Linked DNA regions of Homo sapiens: region 1 is linked to region 2. Evidence: promoter capture Hi-C in human tissues and cell types (Jung and others, 2019). All regions are on one chromosome and are shown on one strand. Each heading gives the region's core, a stretch centred on a gene start or on the middle of the fragment in contact. The rest is flanking DNA. Distances are from core to core; before and after follow the strand shown. Region 1 holds the start of LOC124904728 (a long non-coding RNA gene). Region 2 holds the start of HIF3A (hypoxia inducible factor 3 subunit alpha).

The links. The method cuts DNA at HindIII sites, captures the fragments that hold promoters and counts their contacts. A contact is called where the count stands out against the background at its distance.
Region 1: a contact is called between a fragment that was not itself captured here and the fragment with the promoter of HIF3A in region 2, in 1 of the 25 tissues and cell types used here (bladder).

Annotation. Positions count from the first base shown.
Region 1 is chr19:46,246,342-46,252,716 of GRCh38, reverse strand. It overlaps LOC124904728 (a long non-coding RNA gene), which reads left to right and starts at 2,510. Exons shown (of 2, transcript XR_007067273.1): 1 at 2,510-2,572. The HindIII fragment of the contact is 6,217 bases long and covers 338-6,375 here.
Region 2 is chr19:46,292,545-46,299,153 of GRCh38, reverse strand. HIF3A (hypoxia inducible factor 3 subunit alpha) reads right to left here and starts at 2,112. Exons shown (of 15, transcript NM_152795.4): 1 at 2,052-2,112. The coding sequence starts at 2,077. The HindIII fragment of the contact is 13,814 bases long and covers 1-5,809 here.

The sequences.
Region 1 (6,375 bases), core at 2,197-4,696, 48 kb after region 2:
TCCAGGAACCCTATCAGGTTCTCACAGTGAATATGGGAGAAAAATCTCCTTCATGGTCTGGCATGAAGTGGGAAGGGGGAAAGTAACCGCTGTGAAACACACCAGAGTATTCTGTTCTTCTTAACAAGCTCTGCCATTAAGAGAAAGCATTTTACCAGAATCTAAATTATTAGGGTTTTATCAGAGCCTAAATGACCTGGAGGAAGAGAGTATTATTTTTATACAGGACAGTAAACAAGTATTCTTTGCTCTAAAGGGAAACCTTACCTCTGTCTTCCAAGGCAGTACACTACACAAACATCCTTGAAAAGAGTGTGGAACAAAAGGACAGTCAATGCCTCACTGCCAGGCCAGCAAAAAAGCAAGAGATCCATGGGGAATTGTCTCTGACACTAACAAACCAATATTTTTGCAAAGTAAATAAACACATGAGCAAGGTGATAATAGTGTGCTGGAAAACGCTGCCCTGCTGCAGTGGTGACTGTGATAGTCCCGGGTGTCTGGGAAGACACGCCAGGATCACAGAGTGGGGCCTGGTTTTAGAAGAATGCAAATCTGGTCATGAGTTTCACTGCTTAAAATTATTGAGTGATGGCCAGTCGCGGTGGCTCACACCTGTAATCCCAGCACTTTGGGAGGCCGAAGGAGGGTGGATCACCTGAGGTTGGGAGTTCAAGACCAGCCTGATCAACATGGAGAAACTCCATCTCTACTAAAAATACAAAAAATAAAAATTAAAAAAAATTAGCTGGGTGTGGTGGTGCATGTCTGTAATCCCGGCTACTTGGGAGACTGACGCAGGAGAATTGCTTGAGCCTTGGAGGCAGAGGTTGTGATAAGCCGAGATGGCGCCATTGCACTCCAGCCTGGGCAACAAGAGCAAAACTCTGTCTCAAAAAAAAAAAAAAGAAAAGAAAAGAAAAGAAAAAACCAAAAAAATTATTGAACGACTCCCCACCACCGCTAGGATGAAACCCAGGCTCCCAGCTTGTCCCACAAGGCCCTTTGCTACCTGGGCCTGCCTTCCCCTCCAGCACCTTCTCTACCTACACCCACGGCGTCCCTTTTTCATCCAACCAAAGAGTCACTCCTTGAAACAGTGCAAACAGGCTTCCACAGCATGACTCACCTACCAGCACCTGCTCCCAGTAACTTAGTTCCCTTCAGGGTTTCTCTTTCTCCCAACCTTCCCACCCTGCTTCCAACTTCCCTCACTGATAGAGAATTAAGGACTCACTCTATGCATCCCATAGGACTCACGCTTACCTCTCTCATTGTCTTGTCTTGCCATTGGTCACTCTCCTGGGTATTTGCCCAACCCAAATTCACCCTAAATTATTAGAGATATGCATGCAAAGCATAAAACTTTCAGCACATGGTTTTTGAAAATTAAAAATAAAAATCTCCTTCCCCTCCTTTTACCTCCCCCCTCATTTGCTCGTTTGCACTCCTCAGAGACCAATGCTGTTAGCAGTTTCTGCCTTCGGTACCTTTGAAGTTTCCTATCATACTCTCATAATTCTCTCTCGTGACTTTAGGGACCCAGGTTTACCATTACTAGTTGTGGCATTTCAAAACGTACTTAACCTCTCTGAGCTACAGTTTCCTCTTTAAGCACAATGAAATGAGGACGTATAAGCATCCAGTAAAGTCAACGTGTTTGTAAATATCATGTAAACTGGGAACCCCACACATATGTTGGGTCATAAAGAAAGTCTCAGCTTGCAGAGGATGAACATTATTAAAAGTAGGTTTTTGAGCCGGTGCTATGGCACATGCTTATAATCCCAGATACTCAGGAGGCTGATGTGGGAGGATCACTTGAGCCCAAGAGTTCAAGTCTAACCTGGGCAACATAGTGAGACCTCATCTCTAAAGAAATGTTCTCTGGGACTTCCAGTTTCCAGTCAAGCATGTAAGAAACTTGGAACTCATCACTCCATCTTAACAGAAAGTGAATACTGAACAAAGAAACAATTAACACTTCTTCTTATATCCATTAGAGGAGTGGGGTCACAGGGCAAACCACTGCCCTAAGATTTGTTGACACAGGCAGGTGGATACAGAGAATCAAAACTACTGCAACAGAAACCCATGACCAGAAACCCCTGTGGGAACCAGTACCAGGATAGGAAAACATGAAGTCTAACGAATGAATTCCTGGAGGCTCAGGGTGGAGCAATCTGAGAATTAAAAATTCCAGGGGGCCCAGTCTAAGGGGAGCCTCTGCACTTTTCTAAGAGTTTTACCTCCAGGAACCCTATGAGGTTCTCACAGTGAATACCGGAGAAAATGTCCTTCATGCCCTGAGTTTTGAGCTGTCTGAGAACATGACAGCCCTGGAACAGGTCCAGTAGCATCCTACTAATGTGTCAATGCTTTTATTTTGTTATGCTTTCTGTGGCTTTTCATGCCCCACCCTTTTTAAGAAACCACTCCTTCTGCACACCTCCCTAAATATGGGTAAGTTCATACCCTATAATAATCTCCTGTGTAAAGTCACTGACCCATTTCCACTGCTGCTCTCTCATCTGCTGCTCTGAAGCCTAAACCATGGTGCCCAGAATCTTCGGTAAGTCATCCCCAGCCCCAAGCTGAGCTAATGCCTAATGTTATCCCTAAGGTACCTCTGAACTTCAAACTTAATTTTCTCTTTTCTGTTTAATTCTCGGTTTCCCACCTCATAATCACCCGTGTCCTCTCTGACTGCATTGCAATCTCTCTCCCCACCTGCAAATTCCAGAAGCTTAACCCTTTCCAGAGCCCTCCCTGCATTTCCTCACCTGCCAAGCCCAGTCCCCAGGACCTACATCCAGAGTCAGTCCCAAAATCCACTGTGAGCTGTTACAGCAACCAAAGAAACTCAGAGACATCATCTTGTGCCCCAATGATCATGATCCGGTGACCCCAGAAACATTGTCATTCTCCTTCTGCTCTCAGCTGATCTTTGTTTTTGAACTCCTGGGCTCAGACTCAGAAGGGACCACAGATGAGAAGGGGTGTGGTGAGCGGAGGGAGAAGAGAGGAGGGAGGATTATAGCACTGTGGATAGGGTTGGGGGCTCCCAGAGGTCCCCTGTCAGCTCATCAGCTCTGACTCTTCCAGATATTGGACTGTGGTTGTGCCAGTTGACACTCCAGAGTGGAGACCAGATCTGCAATCTCTTGGGGCTGTAATAAGGGGATCATCCTGTCCTTGAACAAGACCCAGCTCTGTGGTCCTAACTGCACTTCTGGCCCTGCTTCCAGCACTGCTGACTGGAGCCCCTGGGCTCTCAGCACCAGGCAGTAGTGAGGCTCCATGTCCCAGGAGTGAGGCCTGACTACCCCAGGAGTGTGCTCAAGTAAGGGCAGCCCAGGCGGTGGACAGAGTTTTGTTGTGTGTATTCCATCAAGGTGAGCAATGCCTGCTGTGTTCACTAGCTTCTTTTTGCGCAACCATCAATCTCTCTCTCTCTCTCTCTCCCCCTCCACTGCCCCACTCTCCTCTCTTCCCCTCCCTGTCTTTTCCCTCCTCTCCTTCCTTCTCTTCCTCTCTCAAGTTGAAAGAAGAGTAGCTCAGTCATCTTCCAGAATTGCTTTTTAGCTCCGAGTCACCTGGCTCCACAGCCCCCGACCACTGTATGCCTACTTAGCTGTTCCTCCCCTTCCCCTCTACCCTCACCCTTGGCAACTACCAGTCGGCTTTCCATCTGTATGGATTTACCTATCTGGGACATTTCATATAAATGGAATCACACCATATGTGAACTTTTGTGTCACCTTCTTTTTTTTTACTTTGTTTATTGTTTTCATTGTTACAATTTCTACAATTGTATCCCCATTGTAGAATTTATTAGTATTTCATTCCTTTTTATAACTGAATAAATTCAATTGTATCCATGTATCAGCATTCATTTATCCATTCATCTGTTGATGGACACTTGGGCTGTTGTGAATAGTGCTGTTATGAACATACATATACATGTATTTGCTTGAGAACCTGTTTTCAATTATTTTGGGGTGTACATGTAGGAGTGGAATTGCTGCGCCACATGGTAATTCTGTTTAAGTTTTTGAGGAATTGGCAAACTGTTTTCCACAGAGCCGCATCAATTACATTCCCATCAGCAGTGTATGAGGGCTCACATTTCTCTCCAGATTCTTCAACCTTTGTTATTTTCTATTTTCCTGTTTATTACAGTCATCTGGGTGGGTGCGTATGATATCCTGTGTAGTTTTAATTTGCATTTCCTTAATGAATAATGACGCTGAATATCTTTTCCATGTGCTTATTGGCCATTTGTATTCCTTTTTGAAAAAAGTTTATTCAGATTTTTTCCATGTTTTAATTGGGTTGCTTATTTTATTATTATATAGTTGTAAGAGTTTTAAAATATATTCTGGATACTCATCCCTTATCAAATACATGATTTGCAAACACTTCTCTCATTATGTGGATTGTCTTCATTTCCTTGATGCTTGCAGTGCATAGGTTTTTAATTTTTGATGAGGTCTATTCTTCCTTTTGTCTCTTGTGTTTTTGGTGTAATATCTAAGAAAATATTACCTAACTTGAGGTCATCAAGATTTACTTCCACGTTTTCTGCTAGGAATTTTTTTAGGAAATTGACAAAGAATAATTGTTTATTCACATTGGGTAAAATGTGATGATTTAATGTAGGCTTAACTTGTTGAATGATTAAATCCAGTTAATTACGCTATCTATCACCTCAGGTACTTATAATTTTTTAATTTTGTTTATTTTTTGTTTTTGTAGAGACAGGGTTTCATTGTGTTGACCAGGGTGGCTTGAAACTCCTGGCCTCAAGTGATTCTCCCCACTTGGCCTCCCAAAATGCTGGGATTACAGGCATGAGCTACAGTACCTGGCCCTAAGGATTTTTAACATACAAGATCATGTCATTTGCAAATAGAAACCATTTTACTTCATCTTGCTCAATCTGAATGCATTTTCTCTTCTTGCCTAACTTTCCTGGCTTGAACCTCCAGAGCTATGTTGAATAGAGTGGTAAGAGTGAATATACTTATCCTGTTCCTGATGTTAGGGGGAGAGCATTCAATCTTTCACAATTAAGTATGATGTTAGCTATGAGTTTATTGTAGATGCTCTTTAACAGGTTGAGGAAGCTCTCTTCTGTTCCTAGTTTGTTCTTTGTACTTTATCATGAAAGAGTGTAGATTTTGTCAAATGCTCTTTCAATATCATTTGAGAGAATTACGTGACTTCCTCTATAGTCTAGTAATATGGTATATTATATTGATTGATTTTCTTATGTTGAACCAACTGCATCCCCGGGATAAATCCCACTTGGTCATGATGTATCATTGTTTTTTTTTTTTTTTTTTTTTCGGAGTCTCGCTCTGTCACCCAGACTGGAGTGCAGTGGTACGATCTTGGCTCACTGCAATCTCCACCTCCCGGGTTCAAGCAATTCTCCTGCCTCAGCCTCCCAAGTAGCTGGGACTACAGGAGCGTGCCACCATGCCGGGCTAATTTTTTGTATTTTTAGTAGAGACGAGGTTTCACCATGTTAGCCAGGATGGTCTCGATCTCCCGACCCCGTGATCCACCCACCTTGGCCTCCCAAAGTGCTGGGATTACAGGTGTGAGCCACTGTGCCCGGCTGATATATCATTCTTTATATATGCTGCTGGATTTGGTTTGCTATATTTTGTTGAGGATTTTTGAATTTATATTCATAAGAGATGTTGGTCTGTAGTTTTTTCTTTTTAATTTCTTGTGATATCTTTGATTTTGGTGTTAGGGTAATACAGACCTCAGAGTAAATTGGAAAGTTCTGTTTGACTTTTTTGAAAAGTTTGTGAATGATTGGTATTAATTCTTCTCTAAATGTTTTGTAAATTTTACTGTCTGGGTCTGGAGGGGCATTTCCAGTATATGAGCATTCCCCTTTCTCTGCATCCTTGCCAGCATCTGTTATTCTTTGTCTTTTTGATAAAAGCCATTTTAACCGAAGTGGGACATCTCAGTGTGGTTTTGATTTGCATTTCCCTGATGATAAGTGTTGTTGAACATTTTTTCATATATCCGTTGACTATTTGTATGTCTTCCTTTAATACATGGCTATTCAGACCTCTTGCCCATTTAAAAATCAGATTCTTTATTTTTCCCAGCAATACAATTACATACATATTGTTTCATGCCATGACTTTTAAAACCAGTTAAGGGGAGAAAGGGTAAGAAATAAGCGATTATGCTGTTTTTATAAGTAATTACACAATTACATATAAGCAATAATTATATAACATGCATACAAGTAATAATTACATAATTACATATGAACAATTATACCTTTCTTAGTGCTCTCCAGAGGGTGCAGCCCTAAGCATACGCACTGTCTCTCTAACTACT
Region 2 (6,609 bases), core at 863-3,362:
CTGGAACCCTGCCACCCTTCCTCCGTGTTCCAGCCAAGAACAGGGGGTGGGGCCAGGGCCTGGCGGGCTCAGGGTGAGGCCTGAGAATGGGGGTTGGGGCCCAGTGCCCCCCTCCAACCAGGAAGGAGAGAAGTTCACCTCTTCCCTGCCCTGAAGAATTTGCCACCCATGAGGAAGGCATAATAAAAGCAGGCAGTCCCTGCCCACATTCAGGGCTACTTCTGGGCTTTTCTATTCTGACACCCAGCTGGGTATTGGGGGGGGGCGTCTTACGAAAAGCACAGAGGATTTGGTGGGTGGGGGTTTAGGTTGTAGCTGGGCAAGGATGCCTTTTGGCATTGCAGAGAGGTGTCCTGAGAGACCAGAGGCAGGGTTTGGGTTTGCAAAGGGACTTGGCATGGGGGTCTGGGGGAGTCTCTCTGCCCCCCGACTCTGCCTGTTCTCAAGGACATGGTAATCTGGTAGGGTGCTGGTCCCCAAAATCCTATCTTCTCCGGGAATACTACCTCACTGGGCACTCTGGGCTGCAAGCCGTACCCACCAGGGACTTCCCAAGAGCATCCTTGGCCACAGTGGGATGGCAGCCAGCCCCAGCTAGAGGAAGGGAAGGGGGAAAGGAGGTGTTGGGGGCCCACTCACCATCGCCCAGGCCCCCGTTGGCTGAAGGGCCATCCAGGGGGTGCAGGAGGGGATGCGGTGCAGCCAGGACCCGGGTGCGAGTTACGAGTGGGTGCGCACGGCGGTGAGATGACTCCACAGGAAAGGGCCGGCCTTGGGTGGGGAGGGGGGGCACCCGAGCTCAGCCAAGAGGGGCCCCCACCCAGCCAGGAGGGGGCGCTGAGAGGGGCGGAACGACAGCTGGCCCAAAAGGGGTGGGATAGAGTTCCTTGTTAGGCCCAGAGCCAGGGCCTGGAATAGAGTAGGGGACAGGGGAGAGGATGGGGGCGGTTAGAAACATGGGGTGTGCATGGATCCAATCAGGCCTGAGAAGCCAGGGAGGAGGGAAGGGGGTGAGGCTTACTGGGTGCCTCACATTGGACAGGGAAAGCTGAGGACCTAGAACATTTTCCAGGGTCCCATGGGAACATGGCCAGATAAAACCCCCCGGCAGCGGCCCCAGGGCACAGGTTCCCCTGTGTTCCAGCAGAGCTGCACCTGCTGGGCAAGTGAACCCAGAAACCCACCCTCTGCCCGGGATGACCCCATCTGAGTACTGCGGCAGGGGGCGTTCCCATCACAGCCTGCAGGCTCACAGCACCCTGCCATGGAGTCTCCCCAAAATAAAGCTTGGATGAGGCTCCCCTGTCTCTCAGGATGGGGGTGCAGGGGTGAGATGAGGGGCTGGACTTTGGGAAGTGGGTCCAGCTTGTTTCCCTGTTATTTAAGGGGGTGACTCTGGCTTTTGAAAGGATACAAAAAGTCTCTTGGGAAGGGTCCCAGACGGCTTCTGAAAGGGGCTCCCCTCTGCCCATTTCTAGGGAAACCCAATGTTTAGGAGACTGTGTCAGGAAGCATACTATTAGAGGAGATCTCTCCTCTCTTGAACTCAGGAGCTGAATGCCATTCCAAGGGACTCCCTATATGTGGGAAGGCTCCATTTAGGGGTATCCCATATCACCTAGGATCCCAGGCACCTGGTGGCAAAGAATACCCTCAATTTTGGGGGGTTCAGAGGCCAGAGGGATCAATATGTGGAGGGCGAATATCTCCCGCAGAAGCCTGGGGACTGCTCAAATGCAATCACCCCTAATTTATCAGGAATCCCAAGTTCCACCCCCAACCAGGAGGGTAAATGAGCCTTGGGTAGCGAGAAATCGGGAACCCCGAAGCCGCTCTTGGCCAGAGGGGCGGGGCAGCCAGAGACGTAGGGAATCCCCCACCCCTGCAGTCCCTAAGGGTGGAGAGTGCGGTGGGGATGTGCCTCCAACTGCGCGCCCCGGGGCGTTCTTGGCTCGCACCCGCGAACCCCACCCCCCCCAACAATCCAGCTCAGGGGTCTCCAGGAGGAGAGCCCCCCAATTCCCAGAACTCCTGCCCCCGAACTTCAGTACCTTGCGCGCTGCAGCCCCAGCGCCATGGCTCGCCAGTCGCCGCTCCGGAGCCCTCGGAGGCCCCTAGCCCCCTCCCCGGCCTTGCGAGCCCCCTCCCCAGCTCCTCCCCACGCCGCGCGGTTGGCTGTGCCACGCCAGGCCTGAGGCTCTGATTGGGCAACGGTATGTCACTCCTGAAAAGGAGGCGGAACCAGAGGGAAAGACTTGGAAAGGCAAGGGGGGGATACCGTGTAATACACACCCCCCAACCACGCCCCTCGCCGCGGACTTCCTCGGCAGTGTATCCCGCACCGTCGGCTGAACGCGCCTTCTCTAGTCCAGCCTCTGAAGTGCCAACGCCAGTACTCTTCTGAACCCACTCAGTTCACTCTGCTCTCTGGACCCCAGTCCCCAGCCTCTAACCCCCACCTCTTCTCACCTTTCCATTTCCTAACCCCAGTTGAGCCCCTCTGACCTCCAATCCCACCCCTTCCAAACCCCTAGCCCTGCCTTCTCTATCCCTTCTAAGGTATTCACAGAGTACCCCACATCTCCTCCCCACCCCCCAACTCCCAACCCCACCCCAGTTCCACAATCCTTGGCCCTCTGGCACCTACCCTTCTCTCTCTCTCCCCAGCCCCTCCCTGCCACCCCAGTCCCATACCCCACTTCGCCCCCATTCCTCCAGTCTGCACCCTCTGCACCCCAGCTTACCTTCCCTACCCCCTCTACTCCACCCTAACCTCTTGGCCTCTCTGACTCCCTTTTCAGGTTCCCATTGATGAATAATTAAGCTTATGTCAAGTAAATATGTTTTAACTCAATCACACCTACTTCAAAAAAGAGCCGAGAAATGTATTTTTTTTTAACTAGTCGACTATGAAGGGAGAAGTACAAAGGTACCAAGCAAGGGTGAAAGCATTACAGTTGGATAAGGAACAGAGTGTGTGTGTGTGTGTGTGTGTGTGTGTGTGTTGGACCACTATTCTGGATTTGGTTGGCAGGGAAGAGGATACTACAGCAGAAGTGGCCTTGTTGAACCTTGAACTTGCCAGGCAAGTTGCTCACCTTAGGGCCTTTGCACTTGCTGTTCCCACAGCTTAGCACACTCTTCCTCCAGGAATCCACACGGCTCCCCGGCTCACGCCAGTTCCCCACTCTGTTTTCTTTTGGGAAACCACTTCTCTGTCCTCTTCATCTATTTAATTTGAATAGGGCTTGGCCACTGCTCTGCCTTCACCAGCTCCAGGGATGGACATAGGATCCAAACCTGGCTAATCAGTTGAGTCTGCTTCCCTGGCCACAGTGATTGGTTCAGGGAAGGCATGTTACCTAATTTAGCCCAATGAGAATCAACCCTGAGACATTTGCTGAAACCATTAGGAAAGAGGATTTTCTATGTCTGCTGGAATTGCTGGGCAGATGGAGCAGATGGGGCTCACACTGCCACAAAGAGAGGAGAGGCTTTATGAGATGAGGTTCAGTGCAAAAGAGATTGTGCAGAAATGAACGATTGTGAAAGGCAGTTTTGACACCAGCACTTGAGTGCCTGGATCCAGCCATACCTGAACTCCAGTTTAATTCTTGGATTTTTCAAATGAAACCCACAATGGGCTTTTTTTTTTTTTTTTTTTTTTTTTTGCTGTTGCTTTTGTCAAATATTGCTTCATTCACTATTGCCTTATTTGCTTTGTGCTTAGATTCGTTTGAATGGATTTTAGATACTTGCACCCAAAAGAATCTTGATAGAGAAATCAGCTTTCAACCCTCAGTGTAGAGGCAGGTGGGATGTTAGAAAAGGAGCAGTCTGAATTATAAAGGGGGGCCGGCCATGGTGGCTCACGACTGTAATCCCAGCACTTTGGGAGGCTGAGGCGGGCAGATCACCTGAGGTCAGGAGTTCAAGACCAGCCTGGCCAACATGGTGAAACCCCATCTCTACTAAAAATACAAAAATTAGCCGGGTGTGGTGGCACACCCTTGTAATCCCAGCTACTCGGGAGGCTGAGGCAGGAGAATCGCTTGAACCCAGGAGGCAGAGGTTGCAGTGAGCCAAGATCATGCCATTGCACTCCAGCCTGAGTGACAGAGTAAGACTCTGTCTCTAAATAAATAAATAAATAAATAAATAGTAGAAGGGGCTGCAGAGGAAGCATTGTTCTTAGAGCTTCTTAGGGTTTAGGTAAGGACATGGGGTAGAAGAGATGTTCAAGGGAGAAACTGAGGAAGGGGAGTGGTTGTTAACAAGACAACGAGAGTTCCAGTGGGTGTGTTGGAAGAGTTTGGAGGGGGCAGTAGTTGGATGATAGATTCAGTGGAAGAACTCATTGATTTTGGTATGAGGGAGTCACAGCAGAGAGCCAATCGGAGGGATTTACAGTGCCCAAGAAAAGCTGGCACTATTTCAACAAACATTAAAATAGAACTAACACTTTACACACAGAGATGCAACAGGTGTCTCTCTACGATGTAGGTTAGCGTTAAACTTCGCTCAGAGGTTCCCAGCAGCTAAGGCAATAAGGGAAATGTGTCCGTTAAAATGATTTCCAACTTTTGCTAAAGGATATGTTCTTGTTTGAAGAGACAAGTTTTGTACCTGGAACTGAAGTTAAGTGGGAATTTAAGACCTTTTAATATTAAATTGTAGAGTGGTCTGAACTGCCAGGAACTGTGGGAGCTTGGTGGAAGCACCTTACCCACCCTGTCGGGGCTGTCAGAAAGGTTTATTGTGGAAGGGGCATTTGGATGCAGACTTAAGAAGGAATAACAGTGAGGCAAGCAGAGAGAGGGTTGGGGACAGCCGAGTGCAGTGGCTCTCAACTGTAATCTCAATGACTCAGGAGGCTGAAGGGGGAGGATCGTTTGAGGCCAGGAGTTTGAGACCAGCCTGGGCAACATAGCAAGATCCCATCTCTTAATTTTTATTTTATTTATGTATGTATTTATTTATTTTTTGAGACTGAGTGTTGCTCTTGTCGCCTAGGCTGGAGTTCATTGGTGCGATTTGGCTCACTGCAACCTCTGCCTCCCAGGTTCAAGCAATTCTCCTGCCTTGGCCTCCTTAGTAGCTGGGATTACAGGCATCTGACATCACGCCTGGCTAATTTTTGTATTTTTAGTAGAGATGGGGTTTCACCATGTTGGCCAAAATGGTCTCAAAATCCAGACCTCAGGTGATCCGCCCATCTCAACCTCCCAAAGAGCTGGGATTAGAGGCATGAGCCACTGCACCCGGCCTCTATCTCTTTTTTTTTTTTTTTTTTTTTTTTTTTGAGACGGAGTCTCGCTCTGTCGCCCAGGCTGGACTGCGGACTGCAGTGGCGAAATCTCGGCTCACTGCAAGCTCCGCTTCCCGGGTTCACGCCATTCTCCTGCCTCAGCCTCCCGAGTAGCTGGGACTACAGGCGCCCGCTACCGCGCCCGGCTAATTTTTTGTATTTTTAGTAGAGACGGGGTTTCACCTTGTTAGCCAGGATGGTCTCGATCTCCTGACCTCATGATCCACCTGCCTCGGCCTCCCAAAGTGCTGGGATTACAGGCGTGAGCCACCGCGCCCGGCCCGGCCTCTATCTCTTAATTTTTTTTTTTAACTTTGCCAGGCATGGTGATGTGCACCTATAGTCCCAGTTACTTGGGAGGCTGAGACGGGAGGATTGCTTGAGCCCAGGAGCTGGAGGCTGCAATGAGCTATGATTGTGCCACTGCACTCCAGTCTGGGCAACAGAGTGAGACCTCATCTGTAAAATAAATAAATACATGAATGAGAGGGCTGGGGGAAAAGTATTGTAGGCAAAGGGAAGATAATACAACAGTTTGGAGGCAAAAGAGAGCTTGGCACATTGAGGGAACTGACAGGTAGACAGTGGTTGCAGCCTGGATTATAAAGAGAGGAGATGGGAAGTGATGGTGGAGGGGTGCATCGGGGTGAGATCAAACCAAGTCTGAAAGCCATTAAAGAATCTCGGGCATTCCCCAGGGAGCACTGGGGAGCCATGGCCGAGTTTTGAGCAGGACAGAACACAACATGTGCCTGATAAGGATTCCTCTGGGAGCTGGGTGTGGTAGTTCACACTTGTAATCCCAGGTTTGGGAGGCCAAGGCAGGAGGATTGCTTGAGGCCAGGAGTTTGAGACAAGCCTGAGCAACATAGTGAGAGCCCATCTCTTTAAAAAATTTAAAAATTAGCTGGGCATGGTGGCATGCACCTGTAGTCTCAGCTACTCAGGAGGCTCAGGGAAGAGGATTGATTGAATCCAGGAAGTTGAGGCTGCAGTGAGCTATGATCCTGCCATTTACTCCAGCCTGGGTGACAGAGACCCTGTATTAAAAAACAAAACAAAACGAAACAAAACAAAACAAAATCCTCTGGAAGGTGGATGACAGGGAGTGAGATTAGAGATCAGAGAGCAAGAAGGAGGCTGGGCTGGAGTGGAGACCTGGGTGTAAAGAAGAGATGCCTGGGCCAGGGAAGGGGCCATGGAGATGAAGGAAAGGGGGTGGATTGAAGAGATATTGAGGTTCATCATTAGTAGAATGGATAAGCAAATTGTGGTATGCCCATGCAGTGAATACTATCAGC